Regions from separate parts of the Homo sapiens genome. Here region 1 is linked to region 2. The links are contacts of gene promoters, found by promoter capture Hi-C in human tissues and cell types (Jung and others, 2019). All regions are on one chromosome and are shown on one strand. Each heading gives the region's core, a stretch centred on a gene start or on the middle of the fragment in contact. The rest is flanking DNA. Distances are from core to core; before and after follow the strand shown.

Region 1 (6,048 bases), core at 1,482-3,981, 590 kb after region 2:
CTGTAGATTATTTTAAGGAAGGAGCCTTAAGGTTACAAAGAGTAGGCTTATTGATTGGGGTTTGTAGTGGCGGGTGATAAAAGCTATAACAGTTTCTACTAATAGTGTTGCACTGTAATGATGGAATAAAAAATCTTTGGGTCCTTAGCAACTGGAGATGGGGTAGTGAATGGCAGAAATACTGTACCGTGGTTACATTCACTCATCCATTGAAATGACTTGTACTTTAATACAAATTTGTCCTTAGTGCATTTAATTTTGTTTTTAATCTTTCTCATGTGTATTTTTTGTCCTAAACGAAAAGTAAAATTGCACCCAAAATTTAATTTGAGTCTCTTTAAGAGGTTCTCATTTGCTTGTATTCAGGTATTTGTAGCAGAGTGTCCTTAAAAGGAGTTAACATATGTGTTTACTGAATGTTTTTATCCAAAAAAAAAAAAAAAATACAATAATAATCCAACTAAATACTAGAAGTTAGATATTTCCTGTGCTAAAAATCACTGTTAAAATCACTATTGGTCTAAATAGGAAATTAAGTTTTTTTGGTTTTAGGTAGATAGAATTCTGGAACTTCAAAAAAAGATTTTTCTTTTGGTTTTAGTTTTAATACCAAATACTTTTTAAACCTGTTAAATCTATAATTACAGAAATTGGACATGAGATTGCCCTCTGAAAATGAAACTGGGAAAAATCAGCCTATGGTGGATGACTCACTTATCTGTAATATCCTGTCCTAGGAAAGGTCTATAAAGTGTTGGTTTTTTTAAAGACAATTTGGTGATATTGCAGTTCAATTAAGGTGACCAGGATATAGATAATCTGAAAGAAACCATGGAATAGTTTAAAAAAAAGAAAAAAAAAAGAAAAACCTTTCCTAAGTTTTATTTTAGAATAACTTTTACAATTTTTTTGTCAACTCTATACCACTGCTATTACTTGCTTTATATTTTTACTAAATTGTCCCACTTGTCAGTTTTATCTTAATAATAACTGAAATTAAGGGAAATATGTATTTTTCTCATACATATTAAAATAAATAACTACTCAAATGTTAAAAGTTTGTGGGTAAGACTGTTTTGATGTTGAGCACAGTTATATTTTGGTTTCTCAAAGAATGTATTGCATTAGAAATAAATTAGGCAGCCAGGATGTGAGCTTATGTCTGTGTATGTACTGGCAAGCCGACCTCCGCAGATGACATTGCAGGAGAGCTTTTGTTATTTTGCTTTTAATTTCACAATAGATAGATAATCCATAAACATTAACTTAATCTATTCTGTTATGTCAGGTTCTCTTGGGTTTAGTACAAAAAATTATTCCATGTTGTGAGTGAGTGCTGAATTTCTTATTTATTCATTTATTTTTTCTTTGAGACAGAGTCTTGCTGTGTTGCCCAGGCTGGAGTGCAGTGGCACAATCTTGGCTCACTGCAACTTCCACCTCCCAGGTTCAGGTGATTCCCCTGCCTCAGCCTCCCAAGGAGCTGGAGCTAGGATTACAGGCATGCACTACCACCCCCAGCTAATTTTTGTAGTTTTAGTAGAGATGGGGGTTTCACCATGTTGTCCAGGCAGGTCTTGAACTCCTGACCTCAAATAATCCCCCCACCTCTCCTTGGCCTCCCAGAGTGTTGGGATTATAGGTGTGAGCCACTGTGCCCGGCCTGTGAGTGCTGGGTTTCTAATTAAAATACTTGTTCAGCTTCTCTGGTCCAGACTATATGTGTTAAAATCCAAGCTCCACTTTTTAGTTGTTGGTTCTGGGCGACTTAATTGACCTCTCTGTGCCTCAATTTTCTTGTACATAAAATGACAATAATAGTAACTGATTTCATAGGATTGTTAGGAGGATTAAATCAGTAAATACTATTATTTCAGTAAATATTTCAAGTAAATAATATCTGAAAATAGTTTATTTACCACAAAAGGAATATCTGATTTCAATAACGAAAACCTTAATTTACTTTGATTATTATTTATTTAAAGCTGGAGTCATTATTGGTTAACACTAGGCTAGTTAAGGCCATCAGCTTTAAGATTGTATAATTAGTGGAGCCATGGCACATTTAGCACAGTCCTTATTGCAGAAAGATCAGACTAGCAAATGATTAATTTTCTTGGGGATTTGTTGATGTTGATGTTTCTTAAAGCCTTTTAAAATATGTTTCCAACTTTGAAGTGTTTATTTTCTAGTATAACAATTTTATTAAAACATAAATGAAAATCTAGTTTCATTTATTTATATGTATATTTTTTTTCTTCTAATGAATCCTTTCAGGTTTGTGACTGGTTATATCCTCTAGTTCCTGATAGATCTCCGGTTCTGAAATGTACTGCGGGAGCCTACATGTTTCCTGATACAATGCTACAAGCAGCAGGATGCTTTGTGGGGGTCGTCCTGTCCTCTGAGTTACCAGAGGATGATAGAGAGCTCTTTGAGGATCTGTTAAGGCAAATGTCTGACCTTCGGCTCCAGGTAACTTGTGTGATCATCTTTAGGGTGAAAAAAATCTACTTTAACATAAGCACTTCAGCTTTTAGAGAAATTGTAATAACCTCTACTGTAATCAAGGTTAGGAGACTGACAGTTCACCATTTGTTTGTGTGTTCACAACTACATGCTTGGAATTTGCTGTAATAGTGGTTAAGATTGTGAGCTCTAGAGTCAAATTGCCTGTATATGAATTCAAACTCTTCCACTTAATGACCGTTTAGCTCAGCTGTTCCTGATCTTCTCTATACTTTAATTTACTTATAAAATGGGGATAATAACAGTGTCCACTTCATTGGGCTGTGGTGAAAATTAAAAATTAATACATTAAGCACTTATATCAGAACGAGTAGTTATGCTCTGTGAATGTTAGCTATTGTTTTCACCACTGTTTTATTGCTCAGCTGGAAAAGTGTACTAATGGGTCTAAATGGTGACATGAAGATAATTTTAGCTTTAGTAGATAGGTTATGTTGGACATTTTAAGGGGTATGGTTGGCATTCTGAGGAAGAAACAGGCTTTGGTTGAGATAATTATCTTTGTTCTTGTGGTAAATGAAGGCCAAATAAAAAAATAAAAAGAAAATATGATTTAAAATATGATCATCCTGGAACTTTCCTTATTTGGCATGTTTCCTCTGCCCACATGCGTACCTGTAGAAATAGAGTATTTCTGTTTAACAGGGAACTTGAATAGAGTATTATGGAGAGACTTTCTTTATATATTGTTGTAGCAAGAGGGAAAAAGTATTTTTGATTATGAATATTGACAGTCATCAGGGGTTGAATGAGGTGGGCATTATAATAGTATAATCTTTTATTCTCTCCTTCAATCAGCAGATACTTGGAATTCATTATTTAACCAGTTACTGTGTTAAGTGATGGGATGGGCAAAGTATGAGAACAGGAGACCACGAAGGTGTGGGGGATGTGTGTGTGTGTGTGTGTGTGTGTATGAAAATATAAAATCAGCCCCTGTTCACCCGAGAATGACCTACCTGGTGGTCAACAAACCAATACTTTAGCATAGCAGCAATTATTTAACAAAATACATGATCAGCATACAGAAGTGTGTAGCCTCATTGTACTTGTGAGGAGGAATTCACAAAGGCAGGAATATGGTCAAATGAAGGAGTTCATCTTCACTTCACTGTTTACTGAGTGAAATGATGCTCTTAAGTATTCACAGACCTAATGTGGAACTATTTCTCCCTTCACCCCTACGTTAACTGGACCTGTATTACTGGGCTTTAGGAAAGAAACTAAGCAGACTTTTAGGTTGTATGTTTATTTTCTGTCTTCAATTTAATTTTTTGGTATTTGTATGTTATTTTTAGCTTGCTTTACTGTCCCAGAACTTCAACTGTAAACATAAGCTAGTTACTAGCTATAATTTTGACTGGTTTTTACTCTTAAGCATTCATTCAGCAAAGTGTATATTGTGCAGAAAATTAAAAAATAAACCTTCCAATAATGCATAATGAAATGGACATGAGTTTTGTTAATTGCCTTTAAATTCACTTTCTCTTGTACATGTTAACTAAAATTTATTCATTAATTAAATTTAAATGTAGCTGCATCTGATTCAAAGATAACTTATACCAACAACTGCTATAAGTTGTCTTTTACACGTTGTCTTTTGAAACTTACTTAGGCATATGCTATGAACCAAAGAACTCAGAGGTTTGGGGTTTGGTGATGAAACAAAAGAGAATCGTAGAGAAAAAAGCAAAAGTAGTTGTTACTGATAGACTGCCAAACTGACATTCAAACAAGTATGTCATTTGAGCATGGTGTAATATAGCTGGCAGAAAGCCATCTAAGAAAAATTCTGATTAGAGTTAAGCTTAAACCTTTATTCTCTAGGCCAACTGGAACAGAGCAGAAGAAGAAAATGAATTCCAAATCCCTGGAAGAACTAGACCCTCCTCTGACCAACTAAAAGAAGCCTCTGGCACTGATGTGAAACAGTTGGACCAAGGCAATAAGGATGTACGTCATAAAGGAAAACGTGGAAAAAGGGTAAATAAAAGAGTAATAAGTGTGTGTGTTGTCTTCTAATGGTACCTTTCTCCAGTTTCATGTATTTATATGATCATATTCCCATATACTAAAGCAAAGCAACTTGTGCATTAGTCAACAAAGTGATCACTGGCAAAAACAATTAGAATCAGTTGTAGTATTTCCCTTTTAAAGTGTGTGTTACTTAAACTATTTTAAAAGATACTCTGTGTTTGGGGGATAGATTTTTTTCCCAACTGTTTGAGAGATTTTATTTTTTTTGAGACAGGATCCTGCCTTGTCACCCAGGCTGGAGTGCAGTGGTGCAAACATGGCTCACTGCAGCCTTGACCTCCCAGGCTCATGTGATCCTCCTGCCTCACGCTCCACGAGTAGCCAGCATTACAGACATGAGCCACCATACCTGGCCAAGATATTTTTATATTTGCATTAGTGATGCACATACTTTCTTATTTGTTTTGTGTTATTCTCTGCCTTCCTATATTCACTAAGAGCTTGGGGGCTAGATATGCTACTGTCTTTTTTTTTCTTACACTGCCATTTTTATTCAGTTTCCTGTTTTTTTATGGATGGGCAACAGGACAGAGATTTGATTTAAAAAAATATACTGAGTGGTTTCTTCTTTCATTTCATAGGCTCTGAGTATGTAATATATTCTAACTGGTAAATTTGGATTAGAGTTCAGGAAATATTTATTGAGAGCTAGAATGTTAGGTCTACATAGTGGAAAAAGTTTAAATTTCTTGTCTCAATGAATTTACTGTCTAATGGAAAGAACAGATTAGCAAAGAGATCATTTCTATCCAATGTGGCTATTAGATAGAAGATGCAGCCTAGCCTAACAGATAAGTGTGGGTGGATGAGTGGTATGGGAAGCAGTGAGGAGCCCCCTCCTACAGGACATTATAACTAAAATGAGTCTTGAAGGATAAAGAAGAGTTGGCCTTATGAATAGCAAATTTAAGGGGATTCTAGGCAGAAGTGGTAATATAAGCAAGTATATGAATAAAACAGCATTGTCTTGAGTATCATAGGCAGTTTAGTATTGTTCATTGCTATATTCCACATGGTAAATGCTCAATAATTATCTTTGGAATTGATGAATATCACGTGAATATTCTACATTTATTTGCAAAGTGTCACTGTGGTTTATGTTGAACATCTTAGACCAGCTATATGAGGATACTGGAAGTCCAAAATGGTTCCAAGATATATATTTTACTTAAAAATGTTGTTTTAAAATTAATCACAAGAAACCAAAGTTGAAGGGTACAAAAGAGTATATGGTAAAAAATAAGTCTGGGCCCTATTCCTGTCCACATAATTATGTGTCCAGACACATAATCTTCCCCTGTCTCCTCACCCCTGCAGATGGAGTCTCACTCTGTCGCCCAGGCTGGAGTGCAGTGGTGCGATCTCAGCTGACTGCAACCTCCGCCTCCCGGGTTCAAGCAATTCTCGTGTCTCAACCTCCCGAGCAGCTGGGATTACAGGTGCCTGCCACCATGCCCGGCTAATGTTTGTATTTTTAGTAGA
Region 2 (5,947 bases), core at 1,592-4,091:
AACAATCAATCCGTCCATAAATTTTATCTATATGCTTGCTCTTCAGTATAAGTTGGAAAAAGAGGCCCTTTCTTGAGGACATGGATAAAAGTATTATGGTCTAAAGATTGCTGGATCGATATTGTGTTGTTATAATAAAGATAAGGTACACATTGAAACCACTGTCTGATTAAGAAACTTCCACAACTTGTCTCAATTCTTCAAATAATGGAGTAAGTTTCTTTTCTAGGCTGACAATTAGTTCTGTATTGGCATTGCTGCTGGCTATGAAACTCACCACCAAAGGTAAATGATTTAACTGAATCACCAGGTAGGTGTAACAGTAACAGATGATACTTTTATTTTTTGAAAGTCCAAGTTTGCTCCCGTGGTCTGTTGCAAGGGCAAAAGTAGGTAAGAAACCAGGTCTCAAAGCATGCTCTGGAGCATTATCAATGGCCACTTTAATAACAGGTACTCCAACTCTGACACAACAATAGCATGGAGCCCTTCAACACTTTGTAACATTTGATACATGAATCGCTTTAGGTCATCCGCCATGATGAACCCCCTTCTCTTGCAGGATCAATCTCCTTGCCTGGGGTTTCTGGGCTGCCCGGTTCTCTCCACTGTCACTTCAGGAACAGCTTCAAAGACCACAGTCTGGTTTTATGCTGGGTATATGGCAAATGCAAAGAATTGGCTCTCTCTTGGGGTAAGGAAGCTGCCCTTCCTACCACTGTTTTATAGCCTGAGGGAGTTCGTGTTAGGCCAAGACCTTATCATCTTTCAGAAAACAGATTTCAGTTTTGCCGTGGTTTTGAGGTCCTGAACCAAAATTTCACTGGCGGTTCTACCAAATCACAACCTCTGAGTCTCTCCTTTCATATGATTCCCATAACAGAATGTTTTGGTGGAAGTTCTATTAAGCAGTAAAACCACAGCCAATCAAGAAATCACTGGGAAAGATAAAGCGAAGTCTAGCTTTCCATTAACCAGGACAGTCAGCTTCTGTAAAATGGAGTGTCAACACTGCGCCTTCTGTCTTAGGCCAAGCATTTTCTCCTTCTTGGAACTCACCAGATCTTATTGTTCTTGAGCGTAATGGATTAACTTTCTATACTAGCCTTGAGGAATACATGATAGGAATTATATCAGTGACAGACTAATGTTTAGGCAGGAAAAAGTCATCATCGTGCAGAAATATCCTGGTATGTAAATGAGAACGTACAGAAAAGAGCAGACTAGACATACTCTAAATCAAAGGCCTGCCAAGAGTCAAGAGAATTCTGCGAACTGAGAAAGACTCCATGCCAGAAGCATGAGCCAGCGCTGCAGAGGTTATAATTTCTTTCTCTGCATCTTGTCCTCTGCATTATGCTCATATACGAGAAGGAAACTGAGATAGTGATTGGGCCATTTCTTTTCTTAATTTAATTTTTAAAAACTTGAGCCACAAGGTATCAATTCTGAGGACCTAATTAGTTTACTGGCAATAAAGTCCACATCCAGCCTAATCCTTAATATATAATCTGTAGCCCTTACCGGTCCCGCTGTTTCCTGGTGTTTCTCACCCAGGACAATCTCAAACCCAACACATAGCCGGGTGCAGAGGTATCTGGGCCAGTGTAGAAAGAAGACTTTGAGGTTAAGGCATGGTATTTAAGGTTCTGCTGCAAATGTTGTTTTAAACAAATCACCGTTCAACTACAACGGTATAATAATGCAAAAATAGCATCTGCCATGAAGAAAGTGCAGTGCTTTGAGAACTAGAAAAAGCAGTTAAATTTAAGGCCTTGCTTTACATTTCGGAGCCGCCATCGGGGCCAACTGGAGGTATGACTTTCCTGCACACAGGAGCAAGCTGAAAACTGCCCTGTGGCTTTATTCCACGTTCACCCCTGCAGCAAATGCCTTTTCTGTGAGGAACTACGGGCTGATGGGGAATCAGAGGTGGTTCTTCCTAAGTGGCGTTTCTGAGTGGGTTCCAGGAGTCCACAGTGACTTTAAGAGGCAGGCTACCTGGGGGACAGCCAGGCCGTGAGACGAGAAAGTTGTACAGTAACATTGCTGTGTGCCCATAAGTTTGTATCTTTTATTAGATTAGATAATATATCTCACATGCTGGGTTGTTAAGCAAATAAATATGTGTAAGGAAATTACAATCCACATAATTACATGAGTCGTTTTAACCACCACTCACCCCCAGAGTGATTAGATTTTCTTCTGCCTATGCCATTGCGGCCCAGTTGCTCTGTCACTGTCCATGGGGACAGGATCCCCTTACTCCGAAAAGCAAATCAGGAACAAACAGGGCAAGTGAGAGTCACTATCAGGGCCCAGAAACATGTGAGGAACAGCAGCTCAGAAGGGTCTCCAGACTGATGGGCCGGTGATCCTATATTCTTGTTGGGCTGACAACTCTTCTGGTTTCGGGCTCCAGGTGCTGGCAAGAAATCTCAGAGGTGGGGTGGGAGAGAGAGACGCGAGGCGACCCACGCAGACAAAGGGCTCCCACCCCACCCCCGGGCCACCCCGGCAGGCCGGGCAGGGGCCGAGCCTGGGGTCGCGCAGGGGGACCGAGAGGGCAGCGCGGGGCTGGGGGTGGGGAAGAGGCGGGAACCGAGCCGCAGGCCGCTGCGAGGAGTACTACCCCGCCACCCCCGCGCCGCGAGTTTCCGCGCACGTGGCCGTGGGGCCGGTCTCGCTCCCGCCCCCCGCCGGGCCCGCGCAGCCCCCTCCTCTGCGGCTCCCGGAGCGGCCAGAGCGCGCGGCGGCGGGCGGGGGCGGGCCGCAAGCAGGGCTCCCTGGCCGCTTTCCAGGTCGGCGCACTAATACGGGCGATGAGGCTTCGCGGCTCCAGTCTGACTGACGCCGGCTGGGGCCGCCGCCGCCGCCGCCGCCGCCGCCGCTGCTGCAGCCGCTGTCTCGGTCCCCGCCGCCGCCGCCGGGCCCTGCAGGCGCTGGGCGCGCGCAGCCAGGCAGTGAGTGCGCGGCGCTCGGAGCGGGCGGCCGGGGGACCACGGCGGGGGCGGGGTTGGGGGCGCCGGACCTGGGTGGGGGAGGGATGAGTGGCACGGCGGGGACAGGTAAGACGTGCCCTCCTCGGCCGCGCGCTGCTTGTGTGCGTGCGTGTGAGCGCATTGAGTGGAGGGCGAAGTTGTTCGTCCTCGGGGCAGCCTGGGAGGCTCCTCGGCGTGAGGCTTGGCTTTTGGCGGTCGTTGTTCCCGGGTTTTTTGGTGGAGCCTGTCTGGGGTGGAGTGGGGTGGGGTGGGGTGGGCGCGGGGCCGGAGGGGACTGCTCTGGGGAGTTGGCCGCGGCGCAGCTCGCCTTCCTCGCGCCTGCATCCGCCCGCGCCGCGGGCCCCGGGACCTGTCAGGGGATGTTCGACCCGCGGCGGGGGCGGCGGTCGGGTCGGGGCTGGGGCCCGGGGCGTGGGCAGGGACCAGGATAGGCGCCTGAGGGGTCGCTTGCTGTAGCTGGAGATAGGGGACAGCGGACAGAGGGGGCGGCGGGGGTCGTCATTGTGACTCTTTGGGGGCCACTTTTAAACTCGCCAGCGCCGAATTGGCCTCACTTGCCTTCTGTTTCGTAGGCTTTTTGCTTTGTTTACCTTTGAGGCATGCGAACTGAGAAAAAAAGTTAGGAATGTTGTTGAAGTGTCTCCGGGCTCGCGCTTGGACTGTGTCGGAGCCGGGGTGTTTGTCTTTTCCTTGGCCCGCCCCTCGGTGCCAGCTCTCCGCAGAGGGGAGGGGGCGAGGTGGGAAGCAGATACAGGAGACTGCCTGACGCCAGCTTTGTGATCGGAAGGAGGAGCGCTGGGAGAACATTTTTATGGATGGCTAATCGCTGACAAGTTTTCCCGTTACTATTCCTTCCTCCTCCTGCCCTTGACCGTGGACATTTGAAGTGATAGTTTGGAAATACTACGTTGACTTATTTCTGGGCTGGAGTGGGTACTCCTGAGAACTAACCTACAAAGGATACAAATCGAGTTTGGAGATAAAATTGTATGTAAATTCTTTACCCAGTAGTTTACAGTGAGAAACACACCCACAGGGCACTGTGGAGTGCTTTGGATGGATCCAGTTTACTAGTACCATTTCGGTGGCTTGCCAGATTTCTCGGATGATCTTTTGGAAATGTAGGTTAGCAAGAAGCATGGAGGCTGACCGTTAAGTCGTGAGGCATTTAATAATGCTGCCTCCTAAGCAGTAACTGAGCGGAACGTTTGTGGCACCCGTCTGGGAAAGTGAAATGTGACTACTACAAGCATGTCTCCTGCCTTAGCATTCCTCCAAGTGTGAGGGAATGCCTTTGGATGTTTACATTTTAAAAATAGTGATCTATATTTAAGAAGGCATTTAAAATAAAAGCCAAAGACATTCTCAACTCCAAATAGACAAAGATTCAATATAAGAGTTTCCCTGTGCTTGTAGGAAAGCATCAGCACAATTTTAGACTGCTTTTAGGTTTGTGGTTATCCAAGAAGGAGGCTTCAGATAAGAAAAGGATGTGACGCTTTATAAATAAGGAGCATTTTAAATACAAGATGACAGCAATTTCAAGTACTGTATCCGAAAAACAACTTTTAGTGGTAATAGTCACCTTCAGTGATGGCAAGACAGCTGTCTGCCAGACAGCCTTCGGCCTCTTAATGTATTCTGACACAACCAACTCCCATTTTTATGCTTGACTGGTTATCTTTGTCAGAGCTGTTTTATGCTTGAGCTCTCTGGTTTCAAACTATGCTTAAGAGAATGCCAACATACTCTTGATCTGAACAAACTCATGTTTATCAGTGCAGTGTTTACTAAAAATCAAAGACGTAAACAAATTTTGGGTTAAACCTCTAAGTACTTTAGAATTGCCACATCATTGTCATCAGTCTTTCAAAGTCAACATGAACTATTTGGCTTTTCTCCTTTAAAAAATTTTTTTAACTTATATATTCCTAGTTAGTAAGTAATCAGAAAATATTCACAGATGTCAACTCTTGCATCTGTGATTGCCCAAGACATGGATGAGAAAGAAGAGTTTTGTTTTGTTTTTTAAATGAAACATTACTAAAGATATCCATAAGTAATAAACAAGTGGTACACTATCTTTACTAATCATGTGGTCAGTTGGAGGGAAAAAAGTCTGTCCAGAAATTGTTTCATAAAGATGAAAATATTCAATGTCAATATGAAAATACTCAATATGTTTTCCAAATAGTTTAATTCTGATTAATGAGAGTGCACTATGCATTGCCAAACTGGAGGGATGGTGTTTCGTAAGTGAGCACCGTAGGATTAAGGTAACTACTTTATATCTGACATTCCCTCTGTAATAAATAGGACAGCAGTTTCATCATGTTCTGCTTTAATATGTGGGAAATAATCCTTATCCACAGGATGTACTCTGATTTTAGGGAAGGTAAAGGTTATGACAAATATGTGGTTTTTCTGATTTGCCAGACATACTATGCTAAATTTTAAAGCTTTAACGAAGCTTAGTGCAGACTTTCTGTATATTGTTTTGGACACTTAGAGAGGAGTTAAAGAAACGGGAAACTGTCCAGAATGAAACAGTAAATATAGCAGTACGTTGAAACCATGAATCTTCTCAAATAGTTGTAATTCTAGGCTGTTGGATTTATATTTCCTTGGTTACTGTTGCTAGTGGGTTGAAAAGTTATTCTAAAGCAAAAAAAAAAAATGCAAACAGTAAATGCATAAGTACTTAACAATACTGTGAGCATTTTCACAATGTTTCATGTTATCCTGGTGAATGTCCATGTCCTAAGTAAGGACATTAAAAAAATAAACAATTATCCCTTGGTAATAAACTAACCTTTTAAAATAAATATTCCGGTAAATTTTGTCTCTTAAGAAACTTGTGTCAACTAAAGTTGTTAGGATTTCAAGATATCTGTTAGCATTAGGAGTCATTATACCCATGAAAACTGGATGTTCTTCTTGCTTGG

The links. The method cuts DNA at HindIII sites, captures the fragments that hold promoters and counts their contacts. A contact is called where the count stands out against the background at its distance.
Region 1: a contact is called between a fragment that was not itself captured here and the fragment with the promoter of SMAD9 in region 2, in 1 of the 25 tissues and cell types used here (dorsolateral prefrontal cortex).

What each region holds. Positions count from the first base shown.
Region 1 is chr13:36,327,826-36,333,873 of GRCh38, reverse strand. It overlaps SPART (spartin), which reads left to right. Exons shown (of 9, transcript NM_015087.5): 3 at 2,278-2,475; 4 at 4,357-4,512. Among named protein-coding and RNA genes, the nearest start is that of SPART, 16 kb to the left of the region's middle. The HindIII fragment of the contact is 8,496 bases long and covers 1-6,048 here.
Region 2 is chr13:36,917,132-36,923,078 of GRCh38, reverse strand. It overlaps SMAD9 (SMAD family member 9), which reads left to right and starts at 2,841. Exons shown (of 7, transcript NM_001127217.3): 1 at 2,841-2,963. It also overlaps the pseudogene LAMTOR3P1. RefSeq lists silencers at 2,701-2,750, 2,861-2,930. The HindIII fragment of the contact is 20,741 bases long and covers 1-5,947 here.